Linked DNA regions of Homo sapiens: region 2 is linked to region 1. Evidence: promoter capture Hi-C in 16 types of primary human blood cells and fetal thymus (Javierre and others, 2016). All regions are on one chromosome and are shown on one strand. The core of a region is centred on a gene start or on the middle of the fragment in contact, and the rest is flanking DNA. Distances in the headings are between cores, read along the strand shown.

Region 1 (6,137 bases), core at 1,921-4,420:
GGTGGTTCATGCCTGTAATCCCAGCACTTTGGGAGGCTGAGGAGACGGATCACTTGAGGTCAGGAGTTCGAGGCCAGCCTGACCATAATGGTGAAGCCCCGCCTCCATAAAAAACACAAAAATTAGCTAGGCATGGTGGCGGGCGCCTGTAGGCCCAACTATTTGGGAGGCTGAGTCAGGAGAATCGCTTGAACCCCGCGGGCGAAGGTTGCAGTGAGCAGAAATCGCGCCACTGCACTGCAGCCTGTGCGACAGAGTGAGACTCCATCTCAAAAAAAAAAAAAAAAAAAAAAAAAGAACAAAGTGTGATGTTTCTTAGTGGAAAGCACAGGAGATTGTGAAGCCAGGTGCTACTATTCTTAAGCAAGTTGTGTAACCTCTGTGAGCTTCAGTTTACTTATCTTCAAAACGGCATAAAAATACCTACTTCTCTGGGCTGGAAAGAAAGGGAAAGAGAGACCAACTTAGCACCAAGTCTGGCACATATAAGTGCTCAATAAGTATTTATTGAATTAGTTAACTCCATGAAAATATAGTTACCATTAAACTAAATTTCTACATATCATTTAATGAAAGAGTGTAGTGATTTTGTAACCAAATAGCTAAGATAAAAGCATAATTACAAATATTTTAACAATTCTCAGGTAAATACACAGCAAAGCAACTGGCATGTGACTAGATCAAGTATATCCCTGCATGTCTCAAAACGAAATTCACAAATATTATTGGAGAGATAGTATTTATTCATAAAAACAAATTCTAATGGATAATGAATTTTTATTAATTTTCTACACCTGTGTAGACATAAGCTAAAGGGAATGAACTTTCCACTACTAAAAATAATAACAGATGAATTTATGGTGATTTATGCTTCCTTTTAATTTCTCTTTTAATCTTGATTTAAAAACAACAACAACCCTACAGAGTCAACACAGAGAAAGAATGACAGAGCAAATTTCAAATAGGAAGCTCAAGGCAGAAGTCCAGAAATATGCTATGAAATGTTTAGTCCTGAGGATGCATTAGGAAACAAAAAGACAAAGAAAACTCTACCTTCACTGACACCACAATCAGGGATTTGTGTTGGAATGGGTACAATTTATGACTTTTGGGCTGATGAATCAAGCTGCTTAAATACATATTCCCTAATAAAGGATGTTGTAAAATAACTACATTAGAAGTCAAGGGATTTGTATGTTCTTTTATCCTCAGTTACCGAGTGAGGTTTAATAACTTTGTGCAAAAGCTTGTAACACACTCTGGTATCATTGCGCTCATCTCAACTTCTTTCTGTTGCTTAATTCAGGGCATGTGAATAACGGTAAAAAACCAAAGTTGTTTTTGCAACCTCTGGCCACCGAGGGCACTTCCTTTTAATAGTGCTTAGAGTACTGCACAGAAGCTTATGGTTTGCTCACTGTCTCCCAAGCAAGACTGGGCAGAAAGGGGGCCATCTCATTAATCTTTGCATGGTTAGCACCTAGCACAGAGCTTACCACACGGTTCCAGGGGATGTATGCTTGTATAAATAAATTTGTATATTCTTTACTGTTTTCAAAGCACAGTCACATGTATGACTCCATTAGACCCTCATAAAACTCTGTGAGATTGCAAGGTAGAATTAGTTTCCTCATATGACAGATCTCTGTGACATTGAATGATATTATTTCCATTGTATGACAGAGGAGGAAACAGGATCAGTGAGAGATTGTGTGACTTCCGAAGAGTACATGACTAAGACTCAAATGTCAAGATCAGCATTCTTTCTTAAATACTAAATAAAAATAAACATATCGAACTACTATTTTAGGTTTGTTCTTAGGGTCTGTTAAGTCTATATATGGCCAATCATCTTTGGCTTTCCCACATTGGTGAAATGTTGTTTTTTAAAATTCAATTGTAGACTATAAAATGAAAAAGACCTTCAGAAATCCTATCTGTAATCAGAAGAAAATGGCATCAATTATATGCAAATATTTTGCTATAAAACAGTATCTGCCTTTTAGAGTTTATTGTTAGCCCAAACAATTCAGCTCTGTCACAGGAAACAAGATGGAGGCAGCTTTGTCATTTCCAATCCTGCACCCACAGTCACCCCTATTCAGCTTATAGAAGGTTTCTTTATGTTTCTTGATTTCGTAGTCAGGAAATGAATCCCTACTATGACAAGATAGTGAAAGTAGCCTTTTTATTGGGGCGAAGAGGTCACAGCCAGTATTTGAAGGCTCTCGTAATTTAATCCTGATCAACTGACTCTAAAGTCAGGTTTTTAATAACACCATCTCCCACTAGATTACAGGCTACAGGAAGTCGGAGACTAAATTGAACTCCTAAATCAAGGCGTGGCACAAGGCAATGTAACTCTTCTATCTCAATTCCTGGCATATATGTTAATCAATCGATAAGTGGCATCTCTGAACCACTGGTTAGAAATCAACATGAAAAGTGCTAGGTACATATTTTTCAAACGTAGTCATAGACAACCAAAATCAGTTTGGACATTAAGAGCAAAGTTTTTGTTGCTGGGTGGGTGAGGGGGAGTGGGGCATGTTTACAGGATGTGGTATGTAAAAAATTCGGAGAAAATCTGAACACTGTACTTGTTTCTAAGCTACATTTACTGAATTGGTAATGTATTAACAGTGGCTTGAAAAAGAAAAACTTAGCGATAGAAACTTACCTACACGTTTTTTATTTTGAAGCACTTTTAAGAGGTTTGCCTTTTTTTTTTTTTTTCTCCAGGCAATATACTCAGGTCCTAAATGAACATCTACTGATGGAACGCTGGCCTTTAGTCAGTTATCTTTATATGCCGTTATAGGTCAACATTCCGAAAAACTTCAACAGAAATTAACTGCAAATGTAATTACATCCCAAACATTTCTGATAATGGAAGCATTTTCTCTCTAAAGGGGATGGGATTATTGGATTGGCAATTTCTCTTAATCTGAGAAAACTCATCTCCCACTCCCTTCCCCATATCCCCTTTCCATCCTCTCTCTTCCCCTTATACACACACGCACCCGCATGCACACACGTATATTCTGACCATTTTATTAGAGTGGAAAGTTGAAAGGAAGCAACCCGCCAGCTACACCCACCCAGCGCTCCTGGGGGTGGAATAGCAAAGTTCTAGGGCAGAGCCTTCCCTCCCAGAGCCCGGCGATGCAGTCGCTCTCGGATACCTGCTCAGCTCCGCACCGCAACTGAAGATCTGCCGCCGCGGAACAGTTGCGTCTCCATCTGGCTACCAACCCACCCAAGCTTTCTTCTCCACCACCACCACCTTCCTTCCTTCCCCCTCCTCCCCCTCCTTTCCGTCTTCCCTCTCCACCCCCGCCCCCAATCTCCTCCTTTTTTTCTCACTACGAGCGGTTGCTGATGCTGAAGCCGAGCGTCACTTCGGCTCCCACGGCAGACATGGCGACATTGACAGTGGTCCAGCCGCTCACCCTGGACAGAGGTAAGGGAGCGGCTCGCTCGCCAGGCCACCGCGTCCCCTCTCCCCTCCTCCCTTCCCCGCCTGCCAATTCCCAACGGGACATGGGACGCGCTCAGGCAGGAGGAGAAGGGGAACGAGGACGAGCCAGGAAGGCGTTCGCGCCGAGAACAGAACACTTTCTTCCCCTTTCTCTCCCCGCTACGTTCCCGCTGCCCCTTCCCACTGTACTCGCCCCGCCGAGGGGACGCCTCCTTCTGGCTCTGGGGTCCCCGCTGCCACTCCCAGCCCCTCGCCGGGTCGTCTCCGGTCCTCTGGCTTTGTTGGAGCCGCTGCGCGGGGACGGCTATAGGCGCCAGGGGCTCGGGGTTGGAGAGGGGCAGAGAGCAAGCTCGCCCGGCCAGAGCCCAGAGGAGACCGGCGAGGGAGCCGCCTGTCAGCTTGCTTGGCGCAGGGGCCCGGGAGGAAGGAAGTTTGTCCAGGCGCCGGAGGGCGAGGGTCGGTCCAACTGCTGGAGTCCCGGCGGCCACTCGGGGGGCGGGCTGGGCGCACCCCTGGGCTGCCGGGCGCACAGTGGCGGGGCTGCAGCAGGCAGGGAGCTGCCCTCTGCCGAAAGGGCAAGGCAGAGCGCGGGGAGCCGAGCCCCAGCAGCCGAGATCGGCTCTCCGCGGCTTCGAGATCGAAAGCGGCGAGGGTCGCGTCTGCTCCCGCCGCCGGCAGCTCCCGGTCGATAGCAACTCTCGGCTTCTCCCGCGCCAGCCTCTCGTGTCCTCTCCCAGCTCGGTGCCACCGCGGCGCCCAGGCTGCGGAAGGCGCGGGGACAAAGCGCAGGTCGGGTTAAAATTCAACTTCTGACCTGCCACCCAGTGAGTCCTGCTCTCTGACTTGAACGGGGAAAGTGTTCGCTTCCTCCCCAGGACGCCCTCACAAGCTCAGGGATGGAGTCCTCCGCTGCGATCGGGGCCTCACTGGTGCACCCCTGTGGGGTTATACCTGTCCCTGAGTGTGTGGGTTTCCTTCCTGGCTCCAGCGTCCAGTGATGAAGGCGCTCGAGTCCTACGGCTCTGCAGAGGAGGACACCCTCTAGTCCCTCTCCGCAGCCGCCGGATTTAGGACCCTGGGCGGCCATTTGGAAATGGTGTACTCAGAAGAAAATGATTTAGTCCGATGTACCTCTAAAAATTTTCTTTCTAGAGGATTAAACTGAACGATGGGCAAGGCAAAAGAACATCCTGCTGAGAGTACAGTAACAAAGCCAGTGAACTCAGTTTGAGGTTTTTAATTTGGAGAGACTGTGGGTGACTTTAACGCAATCTGTTGGCGCCAGAACAGATGTTCTGTGGTGCCCATAGCAACCTTTCTTAGGGTAAGAGTTGAAAAATAAAATGTAATTGATTTTATATTAGAAAATGTTGATTTGTAAGCTGGCAAAATTAATAACAGTAGTTAAAGACCTCAGAAATCCATTGTATAATCCATGATTTTACCCACAATATCATCATCTGCACTAAGCAGGATAAATCCATTGCCGGTAAGAACCAAACAGATGGCAAGCTATCAGAAACTATGAGCTTCCCAAGTATTTATGTTTTAATGTAATGAGCTCTTATATTGTCCCATTACAAAATCACAGTCGTTAAACATCCCAAATCAAGTGACTATGTTAGGAGCAAAAACTCCAAGAAGATTGCATACCTGGGTCATTTTATATACTACCACTACTACTAATAATACAAATATTTCAATGTTGGGTTTTACCTTAGCCCTTAGATGCCTCAGTCGGTTGATGAGAGGAGGTGCTAATCGGACTAAGATTTATTTTTAAAGTTTGCTCTTGTTCACAGCCAAACTCTACTTGTCCTTCTGAGTGTAATTACGTACATGCAGTAGCTCAGGAGACAAGCAGGTTTACCCTGTGGATGAGTCTGAAAAAATTCATCAGCAGCTCATGGAAAATCTATAACCAAGAGATGATGGGTTATTGGCATCACCACTGAGCATAAAGTCAATATATATAAATATTGTTCTCCGTATCTTATTCAAATATGATTAATTACTTTCATTATTAAACTGATGAAGGAAAAGGTTCTAAAAATTTCCCTTCAAAAAAGGTGCATTTTTAAAGAGGCAACCCAGTATTACATATCTGGGTCCTAGCTGCAACTCTGATACTCACTCTGCATACATCAGCCTCTCTGGACATCAGATTCTCTCTGTGCCACATCAGGAGTTTGAATTAGATGATTCTAACACTGTGCAGCTTTAGCAGTCTATAATTCAATTAATTAGAGTTAGGACTCAGTTTTTGGTCACCTACTGGGAGATTTTCCAGATCACCTCTCTCCCAGGCTGCTTTGGTACCCTTTGATGCGCTCTAAATTGACTTGCTGCTTTGGCCCCATTAAAGCATTTATCACACTCTGTTGCATTTGTCTATCCCTATTGGATAGAACTCCGTGAGGGAAGAGACCATTTCTAAATTCATCTTTGAATTCTCAGTGTCTGCTATAGTCCCTGACTCACAGTACAATAAAAAAATAATGTTAAGTTGGTGTAAGTAAACTCAGGATAGCAGTAACTTAAGCAATGTTAAAATATAGTGATTTCCTAGTGAACTGAGGTGCATTTCATAGATTCACAGTATTTTAACCATGGAAAGGATGATAGTGATAACATAGGCCAGAGATTCTCAACCTAG
Region 2 (6,346 bases), core at 1,308-3,807, 76 kb after region 1:
GTGAGGTTTCTGCAAAAACAAAATTCCAGATACATTTTGAGGGTTGAGTAAATATTTGGTGCTGCCTTTTCTTCAAAGGAACATTTTAATGTTGTTAAAAAAAAACAAACAAACAAGCCTTTCATCATTCATTAGTTAGCTGTTAAAAAAGAGTTTCCAGCTTATATGCAAAAGAAATGTCCTTACCCTATGGTTAAGCATCATAACCCATACCACCAGATGGGGTATAGGATAGGGTGAGGACCAGAGATGTCTGTTGTGTCTATAACTTGATCCTTAAAAAAATGCTTTAAAGTAATTTTTCTATGTTAAGAGGACTATGTCAAAATGCCACATCATATAGACTACATCAAGATATGTTTTCACATGTTACTACCAATGAGGTCATTATGAGTCTTCTTTCTCTCTTCCTTGGGTGACAGTGCCATTATGGTCATTAGGACATATAATTAAACACTCATCAGAATAGAAGGTCAAAGGGCCTGGGAAATCTGGATAATTCAAGCCAAATAAAATCTATGGTTAATTGCGGCTTGGCTAAGTTTATGTGCACCTTTGAAAAGGTGATTATGTGCTCTCTTTCTCCCTTCTTTAAGCCGACACATTGACTGTCTTTTTGTAGATCAAACCTTAGAACTTGATTTAGACTCTACCTCTATAAACAAAGTATGTTTAATTATGCATATTTACTGCCTCTATATCAATTATCTAGTTTAATCTACAAGAAAGCAGAGAACTAAATCATTATTTGTGAGAGTCTATTCAGTCGTTGAAATAATGAACTTGAAATAGAACTCTAATAGAAATCAGCCTTAAGTCAGCATCCTTAATATCTTCTTCCTTTCCTTCCTCTTTCTTTCTATCAAAGCTGCACATGCAGGAGAGCTAAAGCCCATCTTAGGCTACAAATCAGAACCTAGTGATTGTTTTATAGTCTTGACATCCATCTTGTGAAATTAATTATACAGAGCCAAGCGTGGTGCATTTACCATAACTTGAATGTAACAGAACACATGAGAAAAGATGTAATGGAAAACTCCTCTCTGTGAAGAGTATAGTCTGGCATTTTGGTAACAGTGAGTCAGGATGGTGTTAGTAAAGGTAAGCCCAATCTGGAATCTTTAATTCTGTACCTTCTTTTTCTGTAGAAAAACTTGAGTCATCTAATGTATGCACTCAAGTTCCCAGCTGAGGATGAACAAGGCAATGCTCTGCCTTCCTGTTACAACAACTTGTAATGAAGTGGGCTTTTTGCCATCTATTTAGTGCCTTATTCATCACATTGTTGTGCCTTTTCTTGGTGATTTTGCTGTTTCAAATGGCCCCTCATCATAGTGCTGAAGTGCTATCTACTGTTTGTCAGTACACGAAGTTGATGATGTGCCTTAGAGAGAAAATACGTGTTAGATAAGCTTCGTTCAGACATGCATTATAGCGCTGTTGGCCTTGAGTTCAATGTTAGCAAATCAACAATATGTATTAAATAAGATGTCTTTAAACAAAAAACATTCATAAAACTGTTATGAATTGATTGTTGGTGAAAATGTAACCAGAGATTCAGAGAAACCTAACCATGTATTTTCTCTAGAAACAGTGGTTCAGAATTTGCTAATTTAGTCTTTGCAGGGACTTTATACAACATTCCTGCAAATAAAAAGAATCAGTGATAGTCCTTATTTTCAATATAATCAATTGAAGAAAAGAGGTCAGACCTAGGTATACAGTTGTATCACATAAAAGGTTAAGATCCATAATTTTAAAGGATTCCTGGAAATTGTGAAATATGATGAAACTCTTTTTGCAGGCTTTACAGATTACCAAATTGTGACTCACTCTCTGTTCGGTTAGTATAAGCTGAAGGACTTGGTGATAGTTGAGACAGTTATAACCTCAACTATCTGGTAAGTTCTTTGGAAAATAACCAAGTCATCTATTTCTCTATTTAGAGATCTATTTTGAGGGTCACACAACTATTATCTTAAAAGTCTTCAAATGATTCTAATACCATCACATTGATGATGGCTCCTTTAAAATAATCTAAAAGAATATTTAATTAGTGGGGAAAGTGTTCACAATATTTTAAGTGAAAAATCAGGTTACATACAATCTGGTGCAAGACTGGCTTCAGAGACAACTCTCAAAAACCTGCCTCACAGAGCTGCCTGCTCCAGGAACTAGTCATCTTTAAGTCATGTCTGTTTTCTGACCAAGATAATTGCTTAGATTGGTTTTATATCCTCTGGGCTGCCAAGGGCAGCTAGTTGCCCAGGAAATGTGAGATTGTCTGCAGGTTATGAGCAGAGCTCCTCTGGGCACCTCGCTTTGCAACCAAGGATCAGTGGCTCCCTGGGACATCAGTGTTGACTAATTAAGACAAGGAGACAGTCAGGACAGTAAAGGCAGTGGCATCTCAGGGTGTATCTGCTTCTCACTGCAGAGTATCTGCACAACTAAACCTTCCTGAAGAAAACTCACTTTAGTCCAGACCTCCGTTCATGGCCCAGTGGTGGTTGTAGCAGCCCTGGACTCCAGGCAGAAGCCAACTGCCCCATCTGTCGGGATTACATGAGTGACCCCGTCACCATCAAATGTGGGCACAACTTCTGTCACTCCTCCATCAAGCAGCGCTGGGTGGATTTATAGGACAGCTTCCCTTGCCTGTCCGGTGTCACCAGTGCCAAGAGGGCCACTGCAGGAGCAACACCCTGCAGGGAAGGACGACTGAAACTCCCGAGATACTCCACATCACCGGGAACAAAATGAAGAGGCAGGCACCAAAGTGTTGTGCAAGGAGCACTATCGGATCCTGACCCTTTTCTGTGAGGAAGACCTAGAGGTGTGACGTCTCCTGTGTACTCAGCCCTCTGACCACCAGGGTCAGTCACCACTTGAGGCCCAGAGAGAAAGCTGCCTCTCATCACCAGAAGAGGCTCAGCAGTTACATTAAGTCTCTGGAAAGGAAAGTTGTAGACAGTGCAAAATTAGTAGCCACTCAAGATAGAAAACCTTTACAACTGAGAAATAGGGTGAAAAACCAGATACAGACATCCTTCTCTAAATGTGAGCACCTGAACATATTTGCGGATCATGAGCAAGAGGCAGTTCTCTCAAGGTTAGTTGATGAAGAGAAGAATATTCAAAAGAAACTTAATGCAAAGATAGCATTTTCAGATGACATTTCCACAATCAAAGATCTACTAAAGGAGGTGGCAGAAAAGAGTGTCATGTCAGAAATGAAAGTGCTGCTGGGCATCAAGAGTATCTGCAACAGGCATGAACGCCTGAAAACTTCAGCTCTCTATTCACTCCTGTGCAGTTTATCCAGTTGCTCTGGGTTCCAGAATGATGTAGTTTATCCTGTTGTTCTGGGTTCTGAAGACTTTGATTCCTGCCAGCATTACTGAGAGGCTGAAGTGGTCCATTCACCACCCTGAATTAACTCTTGAGGGCTGTAAAGACTCCCTCTTCAGGAAAGGAAAGTGATCTCTATCAGAACAGACAGATGCTGGACAACGGAGCTACAGAATGGTAACTCTGTTGCTTGAAGCACTATTTTAGTCATCCTTCTGCTAAAGGAAAAGGCCAGAGTAGTTGGCATCTATCTGGACTATGAGTTTGGCAACATTTTGTGTTGCAATTTGAATGACTTGTCTCACATCCATTCTTTCATTGATGTCAATTTTTCTGAAATACTAAGCTTTATTTCAGTATTGAACATGATTCTAAACTTCTTGCAGTCTGTGCGGTAACAGATGCAATAATTATTATTGGCACACACTGGGGTGCCAAAACTCTACCAAAGGGGTAATATACCAATATCTATCAACACTGGAAATGCATATACTTTTGACTCAGTAATCTACTTCAATGAATTTATCATAAAGAGATGTTCTCACACTTACAAAACACAGATATTCAAGGTTATTTCTTGCTGTACAGATTGTAAGAAAAAAAAGCACCTCATCAGAGGATTGATTAAATGAATTATGATGCATCCAAATTGGAGTAATATGAAGCTTTAAGTAGAATAAGCATTAATATGTACTCACATGTCATAATTTCCAAATAGTGTAAAAAATAAAGAAAACAAAATATTAGATTATAAAAAGTATGTAATGATTGGCTTGATTTAAAAAACTAATAAACATTAAAAGTAAGTATGATAGATTGTTAATAGTGGTTGTCCTTTGGCATGGAATTATAAATCATTTTAATTTCTTGCTTATATGTATCTATATTGTACATATTTTCTATAGTGTATAGGAATTACTTTTACTTTAAAATCATTTGTTAAAAATTTGGGGTTTTATTGTATTTGTTTTCCCCTAAATATAATCCATTTAAAAAGGAGTATATGTGAGTTATTTAATTTTTTTAAAAAGATGTCTTGGCTCAATAGGTTCAATATGATTAAGGCTGGGCTTATAAATGACATAAATAGATGTTGGAGCCCCTCAAAATTCTCTCATTTTCTCATTCTCAATCTCTCCTAGAGGGTAAAGTATACACAAAGCTTCTTCTGACAAAGAAATAACTCACAAATTATATTTTATAGCGTACATTTTCCCTCTGAGCTTTAGACCTGCATATGCAGCTGTCTACTGAACATCTCCTCCTAGAGATCACAAAATGACTCAAACAACATTGTCTGAAATCAAACTTATTAACCCACCCACATCTTTTACCATGACATCAAACTGGACCTCTTCCTATCTTTTGTAACCTGAGCCTACAATCATCAAATTACATTGTTTGCTCCCTAATTATACTCACTGTTGTTAACATCTCTCACCTCCCAAACTATAAGTCTTGTTTTTAACCTTAATTCATTTATGATGCAGTATTAACGGTGTGTCAAATATTATATGGAACACACTTAAGCTAGAAATTTATTCATTGTTTATCTGAAATTCTAATTTAATTGGGCATCCAATATTTTTATTGCTACATCTGGCAACCTTATTATTAGCTATAATAATTTTAATTCAATCAACTGAATAATCAGGTTGGCTCTTATTCACTGAGTTAAATTTTTTCCTCAGCATTCATTTGATTAGCTGATATGACTCCTGTGACAATGACAATGTATCCCTAATTGTTCCTGGATAATATATTCACCTGATAAAGACCTATTTTAAAAAGTAAACCTTATTTTACAACCCTTGCAAACTTTTAAGTACACTAGTAAATTTCAAGTCTGCTGAGCCAATATCTAAGCACTTCACAATCCTTCATAAAATTTCACATCAGCGTAATCCAAACAGTGAAAATTAAGGCATATTTGAAGCCCCAAACCTTGTTTGAATTTTACCCAAAATAAGCAAATAAAGATAATTCAGTCACTTTGAATGGTACTATGCTAATTGAAAATGACATCTTCCCAAAATTTTGCTCAGGCATTTCCTGTCACAGAGGATTCTGACTGTGTAACAAGGACAAGACAGGGAACAGCTGCCTTAAGGGAATTCTTTTTTGAACAACTTAAAAAAAAAAAAAAAAAGAAATTTCTTCTTGGTGGCTTGGCCACCTGCCATGTAGAGTAGAAACACCCTGTTATTTGTGATCTCACTTTTTCCTTGAAGTTATTAAATGATTTGTACAAGTTATTTGATGTGAACTACTTTATTAAAGTTATATATGTTAAGAGCCACTAGGAAATATAAACCAATTATAAAAATAGGTAGGGAAATTAAGATTAATAGCATAGCTTTAAAATTATAGTCATTCTTCAGTTTTATAGTTTCCCAACTAATTATTCTGCTTTTATGTAATAGAATAATTAGTTTTGAAACTATAAATTTGAGCAAAGTATATTCTATTTACTTTGGAAAATTAAGTGTGTGGCATGGTCATTTTAATTCACCTAAAACAAGTGATATAAATAGCTTCTGGACATTTGAAAATTGGTAGACACTTTTGAAGACTGTGCTATATTATGTACCTATAGTCCTGATGCCTCCCTACTGAGCTCCCACAAAGCCAGAATCAAATAAAAGGATGTGCCATTTACTGTCAGGCACAAGGAGACATTTAATCGTCTCTGTTAAGTGTTTCTAGAATACCATCCTAGAGGGTCTCCCCATCCTTTACTCATCATTTAAGAGGTAGAGTGCTGGAGACGTTTCTCATGTGTCCTTCTCATTAAACTTAATCTATAAACATCATTTCAGAAAAAGGCCCAGTTTCTTTGTAACTTGGCTAGGCAGATGGTTAGATATTTAAGGCCATCACTGTGTCCAAAATCCTTCTCATCTTCATCTAATCTGAGCATTGGAGATGACTTGCAACTTGAGACTACATTTTTCTTCAATCTGGTAAAACCATTTTCACAGAAATTGGCTTTAAG

Evidence for each region. The method cuts DNA at HindIII sites, captures the fragments that hold promoters and counts their contacts. A CHiCAGO score of 5 or more calls a contact.
Region 2: a contact is called between a fragment that was not itself captured here and the fragment with the promoter of LIN7A in region 1, in 1 of 17 cell types (neutrophils). The highest score is 5.3, in neutrophils.

The regions. Positions count from the first base shown.
Region 1 is chr12:80,934,967-80,941,103 of GRCh38, reverse strand. It overlaps LIN7A (lin-7 cell polarity scaffold A), which reads left to right and starts at 3,170. Exons shown (of 6, transcript NM_004664.4): 1 at 3,170-3,463. The coding sequence starts at 3,382. MIR618 (microRNA 618) reads left to right here and starts at 5,271; the gene lies at 5,271-5,368. RefSeq lists a silencer at 3,833-4,042. The HindIII fragment of the contact is 1,862 bases long and covers 1,405-3,266 here.
Region 2 is chr12:80,857,662-80,864,007 of GRCh38, reverse strand. The region is part of intron 2 of LIN7A (lin-7 cell polarity scaffold A); the gene reads left to right. It also overlaps the pseudogene LOC100420442. Among named protein-coding and RNA genes, the nearest start is that of MIR617, 28 kb to the right of the region's middle. The HindIII fragment of the contact is 2,285 bases long and covers 1,415-3,699 here.